Linked DNA regions of Homo sapiens: region 2 is linked to region 1. The links are contacts of gene promoters, found by promoter capture Hi-C in blood cells and fetal thymus (Javierre and others, 2016). All regions are on one chromosome and are shown on one strand. The core of a region is centred on a gene start or on the middle of the fragment in contact, and the rest is flanking DNA. Distances in the headings are between cores, read along the strand shown. Region 1 holds the start of PPP1R12A (protein phosphatase 1 regulatory subunit 12A). Region 2 holds the start of RAB21 (RAB21, member RAS oncogene family).

Region 1 (4,596 bases), core at 606-3,105:
ATGTGTCAATCATTTCAATATATCCAGTCAACTTTGTAAACAAAGGCTATACTCCAAGTCTGATAAGAGAATTCCATTACACAAAATTTAAAATGGTCATCACTCCCTTAAACAGTAAGCAGGACAAGGAAAAATGTCACTACACACCTTTTTTTTAAAAGGCATCAAGTTAATATTCATGAAATATAAAGCCTTGAGTTTCAACCTCCCAAACAAGTTTTTACTACAACATTATTCAAAATAAGGCTATGCATCTTCCACACACAACCAAGGCAACTTTGAGATAGCTTACAAGTCTTTTCATTGTTAAGGGGAAGCTATCGCTGCAAAGTCATTTTCTATTACAGTTATTCCAAGTTGCCCGCTAAGAAAATAGAAAAAGCCTATGTTTTGTCACCTATTACCGTCACTTAAAAATTGCTTTTTATGCATAACTCTACGTGGTTGTGTTGCTTTTGGCCTGTTAAAGGCAAGGCAACATTATCTCTGGATTGCCAATAGTTTCTCCTTATTTGGCTAACATTGAGAGATCCCAATCAGACTACTATAAAACTTTAATATGCACAAAGCATCCATTTTGAGAAAAGTTTGTGACCAGCTTTCTTTTTTCCCAACCCCAAAAGAAAAACCAGAGCTTGGTAACCGGCTTTGAAAAGAGTGTCCCCTATTTATTCTTCTCTTTCTAACACCAGTGCACACCCGAGGACCTGGGGCTCAAGGATCTCTGACACTGCGGCAAACTTCGAGTATCAGACTCAACACGTTCCGGTCCGGAGGTGGGCAAGCCCTTTAGAGGGCTTCCTTACTCTACCCACTTCCATCCCCTTCCTTTCAGCCGGTGCAGATCAGCTAATTACACCCTGTTTTCCCCTCCCCAGTGACCAAGAGTAATAAATGAGAAAACAGGAAATCGTTCGTTCAGGGCACTCGGCTTAGGGCTCTAGATTACTATTATTATCATCATTTGTAATCAAGTCCTAAAAAGTGCAACAAATCCAATGCCCACCTACAAGTCAAAGATGTTCATCTGCCTAACCGTCCGTAATGCCCCTTGTTAGTTTTCTTCCTTCAGCATCCACCCCTCCGAATATACCACTGACACCGGGGCCCAGGCACAACCCCACTACACCCCTCCTTGTCTCGACCCCAAATCCCAGACTTATCCACGAATGGCCCTGGGGCCCCAAACGACCACAGTTCCTTTTCCCCTATGCCCCGGAAATCACCCGGTTCCCAACTCCACCAGCAACTGTTCTGAAGGGGGGCCTCAAGCCCAGCGCCCTCCCTTCCACCAGCTCTCCCTCCCGCCCTCTGGGGAAACCGCCCCCTCACCCCGCAGCAGGGAGTCTCCCGCCGCCCCCAGCCTCAAGAGGTGGAGAACTGAGGGCAGGCCCGAGCAGGAGGCCGACGAGAACCCTCACGGTCAGGAGAGCCGGCGGCGGGGCGCACAGACCTGGTGCAGGGCAGTGAGTCCGTCCACATTGGCGTAATTGATGTCGGCGCCGCGGTGCAGCAGCTTGAGGACCTCGTCCGTGTCGCCGCTGGAGCAAGCAGCCAGGAAGACGGCGCCATCGTCGAACTTCACCTTGGTCTTCTGGCGCTTCACCACCGGAGGCTCGAGGTCCGTCTCGGAGCCGATCCAGCGTTTCAGCTGCTCGTTCCGCTTCTGCTTCGCGTCCGCCATCTTCATCCCCTCTCCTGCCGCCGGGTCTTCTTATCGCGAGGGGGGGAAGGGGGAGGCGGAGAGGGAAGAGAGGGGAGGCAGGGGGTGTGTGAATGTTTCTATGAGTGCGGGCCAGAGGAGGGCTGGGAACCCGGAGCCGACGCTCGAGACTTCCAGTATCCCACAGAGCACTGGGGCGGCGCACCCGGCCGAGCGGACCTCCCTTCCTACCACAGAAGCCCTCCCGCCCCCAGCACGGCCACCCGTCACCGGCGGCCAATCTAACGTAACTTCGCGAGATCCGGACTGGGAGGCGCCCTTCGACCAGTGCGCATGCGCCCTGGGCCTGTGCCCGCCCCAGGAAGAGCGCTCCCGCGAACTGCGGCGGTGGTGGCTGGGCCACCAGAGGGAAGCGGGTGTGGCCCAGGCAGCGGGGGCTGGGACAGACCTGGAAAGGAGGAAGCGGGGAAGGAAGGTTGTCCTGTCGGGCTGGGGGCTCCCGGGAATCCGGAGGCCAGCAGTGGAACCGCAAGGCTCTACAGGGCAGATCTGCCTCCCGTGCTGTCTCAGCTACGCCGAGTCGTTGGCTCAGGGCGGAGGATTTTCCTATTGGCCGCGTTATTTGAATGGAATGGAGGATAGGTCGTGAAGTAGGTGCTGCTGGTTGATCTTTCTAAGGAACTCAGATGAACTTGGGCATGTCAGAATTAATAACCTTTTAAAAGTGGGGTCTGTGTGGCCGAGGGTTTTAATGGTAAGTTCTTGAGGTGACCACCTATTGACAAGGGTTGACCTGCTGTAATTGCTGTGGCTTCCTGCCAACCCCCACTTTAGAAATGTTTTTCTTCCTCTCTTTACTTGTTTTGTTTTGCTTTCTCTCACGCTTGGGTTCTCTTCTTTCTTCCTTCAGTGCTTTAAGCCTGTCTCGTACTACCCATGAGCTTAGCTCAGCCTGATTACTGGTCCTTACCTTTTAAGGGATTTCTGGTTACAGCTCCATCTCTTTCTAAGGAGGGGTAAAGACCTAGCTGCGTCTAGCATTTAAACGGAACGTTAAGGAAGGCAATTAATTCAACCACTATTTATTGAATACCTACTATGAGCCAGTAACTGTACTAGGCACTGAAGATACAATGAAAAATATGACATTTATTTGAACCACCTCTTGAGTTCAGTCGCCCAAACAAGACTAATTTATCATCGTCATAAAAAAAAGACTTTAACTTTGCCTTGTATGACCACACGCGCACACACATAGGATTTGTAATACTGATGTCTTATGAGCCATCTATCTACAATCTCCACCAATTGATTTTACTGAACACTGCATTGTTACCATCCACTACTATTTTTAGAGCATTTAGAAAAGCCAAGATAAAAACCACAAAACCTTACCATGGAAGTTTAGGGGTCATCTAGACAGAGTCCCTCAAGAACTAATTAATTTACTTAATTTTACCCAGAAGTAGGATTAGAATTCACTCAGCAAATACTATGCACCTGTTCTGGGTCAGGCATTGTTCTAGGTGCTGGAGATAGAGCAGTGAACAAATAAGCTTTTCTTACTCTCAGCATGATGCCTTTTCCAGTGGACTACTTCACAGCCTATCATATTGAGAAATAAAATAATTGAGTAAAACGTGATTAGGAAACTGTCTGCCTGTGAGACAATTTTCTGAACCACAGTTATTAGGATAGCGATAGAATCCAGGTCAGGGTAAAAATATTTCCTCTGAAAACGTTGTAGGAATAGAAAATGAATGTAATATTCATAAGATATACCATTGTATGTTCATTACATACATTAAAGATAACATCAGACCTTTGAATACTCATGGTGTTAGGTACTGAAAAACATTGTTAGCACTAAAATACAAAATCCCTATCCACAGAATACAGCTCTCAGAATAAAAGAAAGGAACTTGAGGATTGCCTTGTCAGCTCCTGTCTCTACCTAGGCAACTGACAGCATATCCTGTTTTCCAAGAACGTTATGGCCTATGTGGTAGCTCTTAAAGTGCCCTTGCAGTATAGATGGGAATCTGAAGATTTCATTCAGGCAAAAGGAATTTAGTGGGAAGTATGCTATTCCTGATTCAAGCACTTATTTCAGGATGCAAAATTAATAATAGTTTATTAATAAAACATAATTAAGTTCATTCAGTTCCCAGAAGCTGTCAGGGAAAAAACAACCAAGGAGGGCTGCTATCATGTGCAAATTTCACTGAATTTAGTTTTTCTTCTTTCGTGGCTCTAAGGGTCAAGATGCTCTATGTTAATATTGAAAGTACTCTGAAACTGCCACCTACTTTGTCTTTAGGGAGGATTTTTTTTAAATTGTTGTTAGTGAATTAATGGTACTGAAGACCTTGGGTTAATTCTAGAACAAGCAAAATTTTTTATTGACACACACAGTCCCAGCACAGTGGCTCACACCTGTAATCCTATCACTTTGAGAGGCTGAGGCGAACTCTGCCCAGGAGTTCGAGGCTGCAGTGAGCTCTCTGCACTACAACCTGAGCGACAGAGCTAGACCCTATCTTTACCAAAAAAAAAAAAAAAAGACACACACACACACACACATGCTTTTATTACATATTTGTCTAAGCAGAACAAATGGAAAAAATGCAAATATTTTCACTTCCTAATGGCTTCTAAACAGATTGGGATGTGAGGATACATTTTAGCTCCTTTAAAGCAAATTAAGCCTTAAAATAGAAGTACAAATAAAACTATACTTACTAATTTGCATATATGTATATATAAAAATATATTTTTGGCTGCACCAAATCAATCATATTGGAGGTTTTTGTTTCTGAGACAGGGTCTCACTCTATCGCTCAGGCTGCAGTGCAGAGGCATGATCTCAGCCTCCCAAGTAGCTGAGACTACAGGCGCGTGCACCACCAGGCTTAGCTAATTTATTTTTTAAG
Region 2 (4,150 bases), core at 1,149-3,648, 8.2 Mb before region 1:
AAAGGATTGGCTGTATCAAAAAGAAGAAAGGAGAAGGCTTAAAGGAAGAACACACAGCCTTCTTCATATGTTTATAGGGAATAGGGATTCGATATATAATGTATAAATATAAACAGAAATAATTAATTGCAGGTGAAGAGAGGCAGATTTCAATCCAATATGAGGAAGTGCTCAGAAAGAACAATGGAAGGTGCTCTCTCAAAATGAAGTTCTTTTCTAGTTCTGGAAGTGTCTATAAATGTGCAAAGACCCTAAGGGGAGGAATGTGGAGGAGAGAGTTGGAAAATATATCTTTAGATACAATCATGAGGATATTTTATAAAACATAGAGTCTCTTTAATGGTTGGTTCTAAACAAATCTAAAATATTATCCTTCTCCAATTCACTTTTCAAATGATAGCCAGAGTGGTCAAATCTGATTATGTCAGTCATCTTACGAAAATCCTTCATTTGCTTAAAGACCCTTTCAGTATTGATCCCCAACTTCCTCATGGTCTCTTCTGGAGTTTTTTTTTCCTCCCTAAATTCTAGTCACATTTACAGTTGCTCAACTTTAGATGCTCCTTCCTATCTAAAGCCATTGAACATGCTGTTATCTCTGTTTGCAGAGCTCTCCTGTCCTTCCTGACTAGGTTACTCTTACCCAAAGATAACTTTCTCCAGGGAAAGCTTCTCTAGCATGCTAAATCAGTTGGGTTCTCATATATGCTTGCAAGATACTCTGAACTGTTTCATCAAGATGAAAGCATTTATTGTACAATTGAGTATGTCTGTCTTCCCTGATAAAATGTAAGCTCTGTGAGGACAGAGACATTTTATCTTGTTGATCACAGTGCCTGGCATATGGTGGGCACATTTAAATATTTGTTGAATGAATTAACCGACTCTCTTTTTTTTTTTTTTTTTTTTTGAGACGGAGTCTTCCTCTGTCGCCAGGCTAGAGTGCAGTGGCGCGATCTCGGCTCACTGCCACCTCTGCCTCCCGGGTTCAAGCGCTTCCCCTGCCTCAGTCTCCCGAGTAGCTGGGATTATAGGCTTGTGCCACCATGCCCAGCTAATTTTTTGTATTTTAGTAGAGATGGGGTTTCACCATGTTGGCCAGGATGGTCTCGATCTCCTGACCTTGTGATCCGCCCGCCTCGGCCTCCCAAAGTGCTGGGATTACAGGCATGAGCCACCACGCCCGGCCTCTTTTTTTTTTTTTAACCTGGTTTGAAGTGTGAAAGAAGTTTGATTTTTAAAAAAATGTTTACCTGACACCAGGTTTCCAGTAAATTTTCAGAAATATTAGTATGATTTCTTGGAGGAGTATGGTTTCTTGGAGGCAGGCCGGGCGTGGTGGCTCACACCTATAATCCCAGCACTTTGGGAGGCCGAGGCAGGTGGATCACTTGAGGTCAGAGTTCAAGACCAGCCTGGCCAACATGGTGAAACCCTGTCTCCACTAAAAATACAAAAAGTAGCGGGGCGCGGTGGTGGGCGCCTATGGTCCCAGCTTCTCGGGAGGCTGAGGCAGGAGAATCACTTGAACCAGGAGGCAGAGACTGCAGTGAGCTGAGATCACGCCACTGCACTCCAGTCTGGGCGACAGAGCGATACTCCATCTCAAAACTAACAATACAAACAAACAAAAAAGAATGGGGATGCAGATGAGAAAAAACAAGCAATCATCGAACAAGCCACCTCAAGGTGGAGTACCATGGAACGTCAGAGGCTTCATGAAAGTCAGAAAAACTGAAGAGCACTTGGGGTTAGGAATTCAAAGGTGGGCAGCTCTTATACAGACCTTGCCCTCAACAAACCTATAGTCTAATGAGAGTCGATAAACACTTAGCAAAGTATTAATAATATCCATGGAGTGTGTAAAGCCCTAGTAAAGGAGGTATACTGGTGGTAAGAAATACCTAATTTTGTGAGGTGGGGGAATGGAAGGATGGGGGAAGGATTGGGTGGTCAGGGACGCGGTTTAAGCTGAGACTTGAAAGATGATGGAGTAGTTGACCAGGCGGTCAGAGGAACTTGGAAGCGCTATGATTCGGGATCCCACAGAGAGAGATTCAAGGGCACCTTGGCAGATATGGTTTACAGTGACCTCTGGTGTGACAGATCATTAGCATTGTGAACATGCAAAAACGATGAAGTTCTGCCCTTCATTTCACCAGAGCTGGGCTCGCCTCAAATTCCTGGTTCCTTATTCCCGCTGGCTCCCACCAACTGAAAAGCAGAGGTGGCTCGCAAGCGGCGGGGCTCTGCCCTAGATTGCCAGTAGGCGCTCGACTCACATCCAGCTCCACCCCGGGAGATGCCCCAGAAGCCCCGCCCACGTCCAGGCACGTTCTTCTGGGGCTAGTCGCAGGGGCCGCCCCGGCACCGGCGCTCACGTGACCCGAGGTGTGACGTAGGAGGAAGGAGACGCCATTAGAGGGAGGCAGAGAGGGATCGTTCTTCGCTTTTCCTCCGGTGCCTGACGTGGTGGGCTGGGGCCCTTCATTCTCGGACTTTCCCTCAGCCCTTCCAGGCCTCGCCCGAGGAGGGCGTGGGGACAGCGCCCGGGTCGGCGGGGCCGGGGCGGTGGGGGCTGAGCCGGCCGTGGCTGTGAAGGCGCTGCCGCGGCTGTCGGGAGGGCGGCGCGACACTCGGGCTCGGGCGGCCGGGAAGCGACGGGATGGCTGCGGCCGGCGGCGGCGGCGGCGGGGCGGCGGCGGCGGGCCGAGCCTACTCGTTCAAGGTGGTGCTGCTGGGGGAAGGCTGCGTGGGGAAGACGTCGCTGGTGCTGCGCTACTGCGAGAACAAGTTTAACGACAAGCACATCACCACTCTGCAGGTGCGGACCTCGGGGAGCGGGAGGGGGCGCCTCAGGGCCCCTACCCCTCCGGGGCTGGGGAAACTTTGCCGCCCTGGTCCCCTGGATGTAGGCTGGCAAATCTCAGGCCTGTCATCTCCGCCTTCGGTTTACCTTTCCGAATTCGCCCTGGGGAATCACCAGGTCGGGGCAGCCTGTAGACGCGAGGACAGGCTGTTGGGAGGGAAGTGGAAGGGCCCTGAAAAGTCCCCAGTGTTCCCCGTGGTGGCTGCGCACGTTGTGGTCTCCGTCCGTGGGCTGTTTTTTCCCATTTACTGCAGTTCCTGGGTCCCAGGTGTCAGTGTTGCAGTCTCCAAATGTTAGCTCCTTTTCTTTCTTTCAGAATTAGGAACTTAGCTGCGTATTTGATTTTGCGAATTAGGTGATTTGTAACTTCAGCGCTTACTGATGACTAAGTGTTTATGCAAGTTCCATTTTGTCCTGAGTAACAGGAATGGCAAAAGAGCCATCTCTGGAGGTTTTTTGAAATGACCGCTTGCCTAGGCGTGTTACGCAGTTTCATTGCAGCCTGCGTGGGTCTGACTTGCGGGTCACTCATATTCTGCGAGGTCGATTGACCCACGCTGAAACATCAAGTGAATACTGGCCAACAATTGGTCCCCAGACTAAAAGCCGCTGCTGTTACTCAGTTTCTTTACCTGTAAAATAAAAGGTCGGCTTTCTTCCACAGGTACATTGGAAAGGTGTTAAAATGTTATCATTGATTGAGAGTGAAGCCAGGCCTTTGAGGGAGTTGTACTCACCCCACCTCTCCCAGAGAAATCAGTTTTGATGTTATTAGGAGAAATTTATCCTACTAATTTGACTTACCAATTTGGTCAAAGGCAGTAAAGTCTAGTGGACTTTTGAGCCTGATTGTCCAGGTTCATGTCTCACCTCCATCCATTTAACTAGCTGTGTCATACTGGGTAAGTTACTTAACCTGTCTGTGCCTGTTTCTTCTGTTAAAATGGCCATAATAGTAGTATCTAGCTCATAGGGTTGTCAGGATAAATATACAGAAAAAGCACTGATGACCTGGTCCAGTGTAAGTTGTCTGCCTTTAATTACCGCCCCAACTTGCACAATAGGTCTTAATTAGTAAATGTGTAGTATGTGAGAACATCGACACTACTTAATAGAATGCGTAATCTCCTAATTGTTGTGACATTGGATGTTTGATGCTATTATTAAACTACTGAGTCTAGAATTTACAAGACGCTCTGGCTCTGATTCCATGTTCTATTTTTACTCCTCTGATTTTACTCGTATGTAAAGCATATCTGAAAAAGTGAGTGCCAGGAAACT

What was found. Contacts are between HindIII fragments. The CHiCAGO score rates a contact against its expected background, and 5 or more counts as called.
Region 2: a contact is called between the fragment with the promoter of RAB21 here and the fragment with the promoter of PPP1R12A in region 1, in 1 of 17 cell types (naive CD8 T cells). The highest score is 6.8, in naive CD8 T cells.

Annotation. Positions count from the first base shown.
Region 1 is chr12:79,933,242-79,937,837 of GRCh38, forward strand. PPP1R12A (protein phosphatase 1 regulatory subunit 12A) reads right to left here and starts at 1,856. Exons shown (of 25, transcript NM_002480.3): 1 at 1,454-1,856. The coding sequence starts at 1,690. PPP1R12A-AS1 (PPP1R12A antisense RNA 1) reads left to right here and starts at 2,040. Exons shown (of 2, transcript NR_146535.1): 1 at 2,040-2,313. RefSeq lists enhancers at 676-1,241, 1,042-1,101, 1,242-1,805, 1,442-1,741, 1,788-2,082 and 1 more and a silencer at 1,272-1,361. The HindIII fragment of the contact is 9,894 bases long and covers 1-3,217 here.
Region 2 is chr12:71,752,465-71,756,614 of GRCh38, forward strand. RAB21 (RAB21, member RAS oncogene family) reads left to right here and starts at 2,399. Exons shown (of 7, transcript NM_014999.4): 1 at 2,399-2,824. The coding sequence starts at 2,666. RefSeq lists enhancers at 2,171-2,460, 3,101-3,290 and a silencer at 2,441-2,720. The HindIII fragment of the contact is 5,965 bases long and covers 668-4,150 here.